2 separate regions of the Homo sapiens genome follow, and region 2 is linked to region 1. Evidence: promoter capture Hi-C in human tissues and cell types (Jung and others, 2019). All regions are on one chromosome and are shown on one strand. The core of a region is centred on a gene start or on the middle of the fragment in contact, and the rest is flanking DNA. Distances in the headings are between cores, read along the strand shown.

The links. Contacts are between HindIII fragments. The study calls those that stand out against the background at their distance.
Region 2: a contact is called between a fragment that was not itself captured here and the fragment with the promoter of PKD2L1 in region 1, in 1 of the 25 tissues and cell types used here (dorsolateral prefrontal cortex).

Annotation. Positions count from the first base shown.
Region 1 is chr10:100,326,266-100,331,630 of GRCh38, forward strand. PKD2L1 (polycystin 2 like 1, transient receptor potential cation channel) reads right to left here and starts at 3,963. Exons shown (of 16, transcript NM_016112.3): 1 at 3,604-3,963; 2 at 2,946-3,059. The coding sequence starts at 3,838. RefSeq lists an enhancer at 982-1,101. The HindIII fragment of the contact is 2,587 bases long and covers 2,817-5,365 here.
Region 2 is chr10:99,613,280-99,618,514 of GRCh38, forward strand. It overlaps SLC25A28 (solute carrier family 25 member 28), which reads right to left. Exons shown (of 4, transcript NM_031212.4): 2 at 417-645. Among named protein-coding and RNA genes, the nearest start is that of SLC25A28, 4.5 kb to the right of the region's middle. The HindIII fragment of the contact is 3,914 bases long and covers 1,051-4,964 here.

The sequences.
Region 1 (5,365 bases), core at 2,713-5,212:
CCTCATGATCGGCCCCTTCTTATAAGGCCAGACTTGTCGTCTTTTACCACTTTGCTTCTCAAACTCTCTGCTCCAGCCACGTTGATGCACTTTAACCAAACTGTGCCCTCTGTCCCTTTTGGGCCTTGGCACATGCTCTCCCCTCTTCCCAGAGACTTTCTTTCTATTCACCTCCCTTTCAAGGGGATAAATCCTCCATATCTCTCAGGTTTTAGCTCCGATATCACTTCCTCTGCATTTCCTCACAGATCCCCCAAATCTGGGTACAACAGAAATAATGGCATCACAGTACTCTGTGCTGGTCAGATTGTCCGTGGCATATTTTGTCCAGTGCCAGGCATCACATAGATGAAGTCTGCAGGCAGGCAACCAGTATGGAGAGCATTCTGAAATTGCTTTTAATATATGCCAGGCACTGAGTTGATGATTTCATGGCTATTATCTCACATAATCCTATTGGATTGGGTAAGTACGATGAGGAAACTGAAATTCAAAGAAGTTAAGCAAATTGCTTGAGGGCCCTCAGATGGTGAATGGCAGTGCACAGTGTTTGACCCAAACCTGTGCAAATTTGGAGCCCATGCCTTCAATCCCTACATAATACCATCTCTGAAAACCATAGTATTATGAATGACTAGTTTAAGAAAAGTACCATGATAAAATAGAAGTTATTTAACCTAGAGAACAGATGACCAAGGGCAAGCTATATTCATTCAAACAGTTGAAAGGTTGTCACTTCAGAGAGTAACAGGAACACCTCAGTAGTTGGCTTAATAGAAGAAAGTTCTGAAAAGGAAGTGAGCCTCTGAGGGGAAAGGCCCAAGTGTCTGTTATCTATGTGTTTCTCAGTCCAACGTCTGGCTCAGAGGAGGTGGCTCCATAAGAGGAAGGAAACAGAGCTGCCCAATAGTAGAATGGGTTGCCTCATGAAACAGTGACAGCCCCGCTGACACTCCCCAGGTTGGGCTGGTTGGCCACCTGACAGAGCACCATGGGAAGGATCACAGAGAAAGGATTCCACGTATTCTGCATCCTAAAATTAGATGAGCTCTAAACCCCTGTCTGCTCAAGGACTCTGTAATTACTGAACGAAGCCTGTGACTCAGATTTTGGCAAGTCACAGACCATCTGGCAATGCATCAGTGCACTGAGATCTTAGAAAGCAGAGAACATGAGTGGATTGGACTCCTGGACTTCCAGAACCCAAGCTTCCACCCTTTCCAGCTCCATACAATGGAGTTAGAAATGGTTCACTGTAACTCTGGGGAGCTAGAAACAGTCCTGTTCCAGAGGCTAATCTGGAAAGAGAGACGTTTAAGTCATTTATAGAGAAAGGCTCTGCCTGTGGGTTTCAGCTGCTGTCACGGGATCTGAAAAAGGAGATGACTTCTCCTTGCTAGCAGATGGTTAGGACAAAAATAATCGATACGTCAACAAATGAATTTCTGACAGCCATTTGCTGAAAGGAATTGAAAGGGCCCCACAATATGTACATTGGGCCGGCCGTTGTTCCTCACATGCACTGTGTCCTTTCACTCCCTGCAGAGTGGCCAGTGACAAACACAGAGGACTGTCCCCTCTGTCCAGCATGGAATGAGTTCCGATAGAGCACAGCCAGAACAAAGTGCTTTCTGCCAGCTTTCCTAGAGGGCTTGCACAAATGTGGGTGGCTCAAAAAATAAGACAACATTTCATCAACATTAATGTTATGAGACTCTTTGACTCCACTTTCAAAAGATTTATGCACCCTGACAAGAACAGAGTATTGCGGAGCCTAGAACACCTACTAATGAGGGCATCTTAGTTGTACGATTCAACCTACAGCTTTAATCAAAACACAACCCCACACACAACTATATTAAACTAGGCAAACATCACTTGTGCAACTTTTGAAAGAAGTAATAAACCAAATACAAAGTTGCTGTCATTACCTACAAGTCTAATAGCATCTGTTTGGTCCAATTTTATTATTATTTACGGTTCTTTGACTCTATCTTCCCACAGTCGCCCTCCTATCTTTTCACTTGCTTCTCTCAACTTAGAGATCAAAATTTCTCAGTTTGTGTCTATAGCTAGAGCCTCAATAAGCTTCCTCCAATGGCATGTGACATGGTGGTCTCTCACATGGGACCATCACCATACCATGTGTTTCCCTCCCTCTCTTAACAGGGATCTGAGATCTAAGGTCGCCTGGATCTTTTACTTCCTCTCTTTTTTCTTCCATCTTTTTCTCTGCCTCTAAAGAAACATGCATCGGATATAGTATAATAACTACGTGAAGCCCACCAAACTATCTTTCCAAACAGAAGGGAGTGGTTTTCCACTCTTTTTTTTTTTTGGAGACAGAGAGACAGAGTCTTGCTCTGTCCCCCAGGCTGGAGTGTAGTGGCACGATCTTGGCTCACTGCAACCTCTGCTCCTGGGTTTAAGCGATTCTCCTGCCTCAGCCTCCTGAGTAGCTGGGATTACAGGCACCTGCCACCCAGCTAATTTTTGTATTTTTAGTAGAGACAGGGTTTCGCCATGTTGGCCAAGCTGGTCTCAAAACTCCTGACCTCAGGTGATGTGCCCACTTCGGCCTCCCAAAGTGCTGGGATTACAGGCGTGAGCCACCGTGCCAGCCCACTCTCTACAGAAGGGTAAAATATTTTCACCTTTCACCTTTTCAGCCAATAGAAAACAATGGCTGCCAAAAACTGGTTTCCCCTTGTAATTCTTGACCAAACTGCCTTCCTCTACTGACAAATTCCTTTTAAACAAAATATCTTAAGCTGCAAAGGTAAATAGATGGGATTGGAATATTGTTATCTAAAGTTCCCGGATATAGCCTGCTTACACAGATAGATGCTCGCTCCACAGATGTTGCCCACAGGAATGTTTATACATATAGTGCACACATAGATGTTTCTCACAGACAGATGTACACAAACACAGATGCTACTCACGTAGACAGATGTCCACCAGGAACACAATATATACCAACAGCTCCCTCAGGGTGGTCTTGATATAAAGTTCCCGGTTCTCAGCTGTGTTCTCAGTCAGGGTTGTTCCCCAAAGTCCTAAGGGGCATGGGAGAGATGCCTGGGATGCTCAGTGGCAGTGTTCCTCCCAGTCATCCCCACCCATCTGTCTCTGGACTTTAGCCCCTTTCCACCCCTGCCCTTCCTTGCCCATCACCTTCATCCTTGGCTGAATCTGGCTACTGTACCCACACCCATGCTTGCTCTTCCCATCAGCTCCCTGAGGTCGACAGGGGTGAAGGCCCTGGCTTGTAGAGAATGAAGGCATGGAAAGGAGGCACCTGTTCCAGGTGGGGTAGTCTAGGGCATCATCACATCCATGTCCTCCCTCAAACCAGCTCCCACATACCTCTCTGGATCCCCAGGTGATGACCATGCCAGGCTCCCACAACCGGTAGACCGCTCAGCTGGCCTCTGTGTTCTGGGTCATGCAGCACTACCATGGGCAATTCATACACCCCAAAGTGACACCGAAAGGTCACCTCTTCTTCAGATCACATTCCACCCCCACCCCCTGCCCAAAAGCTTTTGGTGACTCCTCCTGATTCTAATATCCCAGGAGAACTGTCCCCCTATCTGGTACCTCTGATGCCTTGACAGATATGGAGGCAGCAGCTGGACACCTGGGTCCTGTATGCCGTCTCCTGGGGTTCATCTTCAGGCTTCTTGGGTTGGGGCTGGAGAGGCCCCGTGCTGGAGATGGTGCAGACTCTCAGCGTCCCGTGTGGGGAAGGGGGACCACTGTAGGCGGGGTTGTCCCAGGCTCCACTCCCCAGCTTTTGCAGCTCCTGCCCCTCAGGACTTCCCACAGCATTCATGGGGAATGAGGTGGGGGGGCCCGGTACCCCAGGTGCCCACTCTCAGCTAGAGGAAGAGGGAGCAGAGGCACAGCCCAGCCTAGCCAGCAGAGAGCAAATGGAAAGGCGTCTGAGAGCAGCTGTTTCCACACAGCCTGGGCTCCTGCCTTTTGTAGGGGGATGTCTGTGCCTGCTGGGGAGGGAGCGGATGAGAGGACAGGGTGGGGAAGGACCATCAATCCTGTCAGGAGCTCTCTCTCCCTCTTGCTGCAAGCCCCAGGGGACCAGCCGAAAGGGGAGGTGAGGGAACTGGAAGGTGGGGGTTTGAAGAGGGGAGAGGGGAGAATAGGAGGAGGATGTGGAGCTGGGAGTGGAAGGAGAAACGGGAGGAAAAGGCGATGCTGGGGATGAAGGGGGCTGCTCGCAGATGTGCCTGGTGGAGAGATGGCCCAGAGGTCGGACAGAAGAGACGATCAAAGAGCAATGGGAGGAGCTGAGACAGGAGGGGAGCCGGGGGCCTGTGCTGCGGGTCTGAGCTCATTTCCACTAAAAGCTCCTAAAAGGGCCGACATGGATTGGGGTGGGGACCAAGGCTGGGAGGAAAGCTGAAGAGCGCTGTCCCCCTCCCAGGCTCTGCCCACCTCCCAGGTTCAGTCAATGGGTCTGAGGCTCCTGTCCTGTCTCACCTTCAGCTGTCCCCTGGTGGAGCAGAGATGGGCAGCTCCCTTCCCTCACTTCACCCTCTCAGCCGTGGGGAAAGGACAGTGGCAGGAGGAACCCCAGTCTCACATACTTCAGGGCACTGAGGGGGCAGGGGAGAGGACCACAGAGTCCTAGGTTGTCTATATTCCTTGTTCTGAAGCTTGCCTTTCCATGGCTTACAGGTGAGATACACCAAGAGAGGGGGTTCCTTAAGGGTGTGGGGCTCAGTATGGGAAAAAGGCTAAGACCTGGTTGGGAGGCTGGATCGGAGAACAAAGGACAAGGACAGTATGATGTGGGACTAAAGGGGAGTGGATATCTGGACCCAGCTGAGCTGGGAACCTTTTCCCATGGCTCTGCTTAGTCCTGGGCCTAGAATCGTAAACTTGAGCACAAAGTGGAACTATCCATGATATCAGGATTAATCTGCTTTCTTTATAACTGCAGGTCTCTGAATTAAAACTGTGTCATGGGCCCCCAAGCACATCCCTGCCTATGCCCTGCTCCAGCTTCTGATCACCTGCTCCAGCTCCCCTATAGGCATGCATGATGCCCCAGAATGGGGCTGATCCCACAGGTTGTGGTGGTCACCCTGCAGTTTCTCCTCCTTGAGGCTAGAGCAGAGACTTTCCTCTCCTAACTCCTGGCTCCCCACCCAGGGCTACTCACTGGCCTGAAGCCCACCTTCACATTCAGCAAAACATCAGCCTTGTCAAAATAATCAGTCTTGAGTGTCCCTATAAAGAGATCTTGGCTGGGTGTGGTTGCCCACACCTGTAATTCCAGCACTTTGGGAGGCCAGGGCAGGAGGATCACTTGAGCTCAGGAGTTCAAGACCAGCCCGGG
Region 2 (5,235 bases), core at 1,758-4,257, 710 kb before region 1:
GAGGCAAAAAGCAGGGGCTTCATTAGTATCTTCCTTGGGTGGCTGGCTGGGTCGCCTCCAATCCTGCCCTAAGGAGCAGGACACCACCCAACTGTCAAACATAGACTGGGGGTAGTTCAGTGTGTCTCCACATTACCAGGGCATTAGAAGTTGATGCCAGGGAGATGAGAGGAACAAGTCAAGCTGGTAGGTAAGGGAGGATACTGTAACCCTTTGTTGAGGTGCCCCAAAGGAAAAGGCAGGGTTGAAGCGGCCCGTTGTCTGAGAACATCAGGTTTGGAAGTCCCTCCCTTATAATCTGGCCTATCCCAGCCCAAAGCTTCAGCTCCAAACCATGCTGAGACTGGAAAGCACTGACAGCAGCAAAGCCCAAAGAGTTGGGAAAGTGGGGGAACCAGCACAGGAAGGCTCAATACCATTGGCAATATGGCTATTGCCCCCAGGGTGGATTACATCACTCAATGTCTTTTTTAACTTTTCGTAGCAGGCAAAATAAAGGGCGTGGGCAGGCCCTGCGCCTGTTGCTGTGACGTTCAGCCCCCTCATGGGCCTCCATAGGCCCTCCGTTCTTATAATCCTCCAGAGGGCCTCCAACACATTGCGATAGCGGGCAGCTGGGTCAGGCTGTAGACTCTGCATCCGGGTCTGAAATTACAGCAAGGAGAAGCGCAATGTCAGCAATGCCAACTTCTCGCCCCACCTCAACACACTGGGCAGACCTTCTACATGGAGCTGTGCCAATCTGTGAGAGGGATATCTGGCTTTCAGCTTATTTCCAATCTATAGCTGATCTTTCTTCTAAGCCTTGGACCTTTCTTTTTCTAGTCATCTATGACCCTAAGAATGGAACACCATTATTTTCCCTGAAAAAATAATCCCACCTATTGCTAAGTGTCCTGGTACTCCAAAATGATTCAGAGCCCCAGCAACAAATATCAAGCCTGTGTTTCAGAAGTTGCTTTTGTGCCTTAATACACTCAAGCTGACAGTTCTTTACAAATGGATTCTAAACTCCAGTATTTACTATCTATGACATACTTTATGCTGTATACCTAAAGAGTGCCCCTGGCCCTGCTTCATGACCACACACTGAGGGGCGGCTAATTTTTTTATACTTTTTCAGACTATCTGGCAATGGTGGCTGGGTCTACACAGAGTCTTGGCAGAAGCAGCATTCTTAATACATGCTTTTATTTCTTGGGAAAGAAAGTTTACCCTGAAACTGCAAAGGTGGGAGTGTCTAGCTAGAAACCAATCTAGTCTCCAATCCTGAAGGGCCCTTCCAGATTTCTAATTTAAACTGATTGAATCCCAAAATTGGCATTAGCAAATAAAATCAGTCTCAGTGAAACATAATCCTTGGAATCTCTCTAAAGGATTTGATGATTGGAATAAAAGCGTAGGGTAGACACTTTGTATGATGTTCTTGGACAAAGTTTTGTTGAAATTTGGGAAATTAATCTTATTCAAAACACCTCCCTAAATTAGACCTTTTCTGAAGAGTGTGTCTCCCCAGGAAAATTTCTCATCTACTGACCCAATTCAAGGTAAAGTAACATGGAAACTAATAGTTAATATAAAATCAATGTCTAAAAAGAAAAATCAATGTCTGGTGCCTGACACACAATAAGCACCTCTGATTTGTTTGCTAAATGAATGAATCTTTTGTCACATAACTGTATCAGCTACAATCACTGGTGAGCCAATGGAAGCAAGTGATGCCCAAGTACAGTTTAAATTTCTGCATCAATCTAATCACTAGATTCTATTTGGATTTAAAAGCTTGAACCTTCGGCCAGGCACGGTGGCTCACGTCTGTAATCCCAGCACTTTGAGAGGCCAAGGCGAGCAGATCACCTGAGGTCAGGAGTTCGAGACCAGCCTAGCCAACATGGTGAAACCCCGTCTCTATTAAAAATACAAAAAAATTAGCCGGGCATGGTGGTGTGCACCTGTAATCCCAGCTACTCAGGAGGCAGGAGAATCGCTTGAACCTGTGAGGCGGAGGTTGTAGTGAGCCTTCGCTGGTTTGAGCCACTGCACGGCAGCCTGGGCAACAAGAGCAAAACTCCATCTCAAAAAAAAAAAAAAAAAAAGCTTGAACCTTCCTCTTGGCCAACTGGAATCCAAGAGTAATACCTTTCCTCAAGAGCATGGGAGAAAAGAAACTAACCAGATGAACAGGTCCCGGTTAGCTGCAAGCAATCCACATTCCTCTGGTTATTTTCTCCTGCCTGCTACCAACAAAAAACCGGAAGCTTAAAAGGTTAGTTACTGGATGTTCAATCAGAAATACTCTACACAGTATCACTTATCACAATTTGACACATTCTTTCCTACTTCCCCCCACAAAACCTCATGTATTTCCAATAAAGGGTTTGTTTACTCATCTTTCACATCACACAAGGCATATAAAATCCATCAGAAGAGTTGTTCATAGAGACTACGGGTCATATGCTGGCTAGAGCTACTAATAAGCAAAGATAAATTGAGCCTCTTAGCTTATCGTGTTTCCATGCATTTATTCAAAACTGATCTTGTATAAGGGGAATGTTCAGCAATTGCATTGCTCTGCTGCAGTCAATGGTGTATTTGGCTACCAATTCTGAACGGTTTGGCTTCGGAGGCCTGGAACTCCTCACCCCCAAGAGAAAACCGGACTGTGGGAAGCTACTTTGAACATTCTATATACACATCTAAATCTAACTCAACAATTCTAACTCGATAAAAGTACACCCTTATGGAGAGGACCTGGGCATAAGCTATGCCAAATATAAAAATGAATATGGCTCCCCAAATTTGTGGGCCAATAAATCTGCCTTTTACAGAAAGATGAAATATCTAAGTAAGAATTTCTGAAAAACCTCAATGTGAAAAACTTCTACCTGGCTTTGGAGAAAAGCCAAACAACCCAGTAGAGAGGTAAGTGGTTTGGTAAAAGACAAGCCACATTTGAGTCAAAAAGCCTGAGTCTGAGCCTCAGCTTTGCTAGTTGTGTGATCTTGGGTATGTCACTTAACCTCTTTAAGCTTCAAAATTGTCATCTATAACATGAGGCCAAGAATGACTGGCTCACAGGGCTGTTGTGGGGATTAAAAGAGATAAGATATGTAAAAGCCATTGGTAATTTATAAGATGCTAGAAATACAAAGATTTTTATTGTATTCAAAATGATTCTATATTTGTTCATATCTAAGAATTTACAGATCATGGTAGCATTGCCTCCTGTATAAGTCATTTCACAAATATACATGGGCAACTAACTGTCCTTAGCCACCAATAAATCAGGGTTAATTTTGTATTTTTTGTTTTCCTTTTAAAGTTTCTCTGTGGCTATAATGATTTACATGTCCCACTATTAATCTGAAGGTCATATGTTCAGGGACAAGCTTTACTGTGAAATTCTGTGCCTTGCCTGGTTCTTGTAATCTGCTTTTGGGAAGCTATATGGAAGGCTTGAGAGTCTGATACACTGAGTTCAAATCATAACTGTGCTACTTAAACTGTGTGACCTTGGACAAGTTATATAACTTCCCTAAGCCTCCTTTCAACTGTAAAATAATGAAAATGGTTTCTACTTCATGAAGTTGCTTCACAGATTAAATGAATAAATGTATGTAAGGTACTTCAGATAGTGCTTGGCACACAAGATCACTGAATACTTATTACTAGATGCAAGAAAATCAAATAAGCTAATGTTTCCATTTCCTAATCTTTCACAGGTGAATATGTATAGATACCATTTACATCTGGAAATTGGAGATTTATCTCCCTCTGCTCTTCCCCTCTTTATTATATAAGTGGATATTTGCTTTACCACTTCAGAGCCAACAACAGCAGCTTGATGATAGGTGGGTACTTCGCCAGAGGATTTTGAGAAGGGTTCTGACTGTTTTGGGTTGCAGAATGTCCCCATAGATAAAGTCTGGCGCTTGCCTTTGAGGCCCAGAAAAGGAAACTGGGATTTATCTGGGCTCCCAAGCCTCTCCATTATAGCCATGGAAATAGCTGGTTGAATAACCATGATCCAGCAAGGCTACACTGACTTCTCATGGTCCCTCTCAAGGATATTTAAAGTCAACTTGACCCTGATAAGTAGCTGAGGATGGACAGGCCTGCATGTCAAAAGGCAATGTCAGCTTTCATTTGCAAACATTGTGGTTGCCCTTTAGGCTCCAACAACATGGATATCTGCCTCCAGTCTTAAAGACTGGGCTGCTTTTCCTCCCCACTCATCCACTTATTAAAAGAAGAAGGATAGCTGCTGGGGACAAGCAAACTGGGAAGTCTTTTCTGAAGGAAGAGATTTGAATTTTACTTTCATGCCTGCACAAAAGTGTTTAACATACTCACTGACACTAAATCATACTGGCCTCACCTAGTTCTTCCCTCTAAGTCATTTAAATCCCAGCATTAAGTGCAAGTGAAAATGAGCCTTCTAAAATAAGCTTTCGTATTGTTGACAACTCCTGAGCATTTTTTTCTCAAATCATTATTTCCTTAATAGAGGGCTTTCAGGCATAACTGCTATGTTGTATGACTAATTTTTAAAAAACAAAAATTCCAAAGTTTATGTAAATGAGTAAGAACTGTTCTTCAAAATAGTTACCTTGGAAGGCTACAATTGACTTATTCCAGCAAAGCTGTGGTTATGCAAAACCTTTCTGGAACTTCTCTTTCAGAGGTGTTTCCTCAACGGGTTTATAGGCCTCAGAAGTAAAGCAGTCTCCTTGCTTTCCAGTCCCACCTTATTTTGATGCCAAGCAGTATTACCCATTTTGACCTCCCACTTTATTCACCATATTTGATTCTGAATAGTCTTTGTTCTTGCAAAATCAATTCCATCTTGTCACAGGGCAAAGATTTGCCTCCCTTAAGGACATGCACCCAAATATTCTAGAAGCATTTTTAACAGGGATTTATAAAATGTTTATAGCAACAATAGCACTATGTAAATATATGGAGTAAGGAGATAACCTCCCGTTCTGTTATAATGGAACAGTGGTTAAATTGATAAGTTACAGTAATATTTCTAAGACAAATTATTACACTGTATTTTTCAAGCCATTACATAATTTTCACTGTTTTCATTGATCTGTTTTCCATTCAATACTCATCCAGAAAAACAGCATCCTAAACCCTGCACTCTACTCACAGTCTAAGTCTAGGGAGGTTACTCTGCAGCTAGATTATATTAACTTTTGGATATACGGCATTATTAACTCACAAGTCATT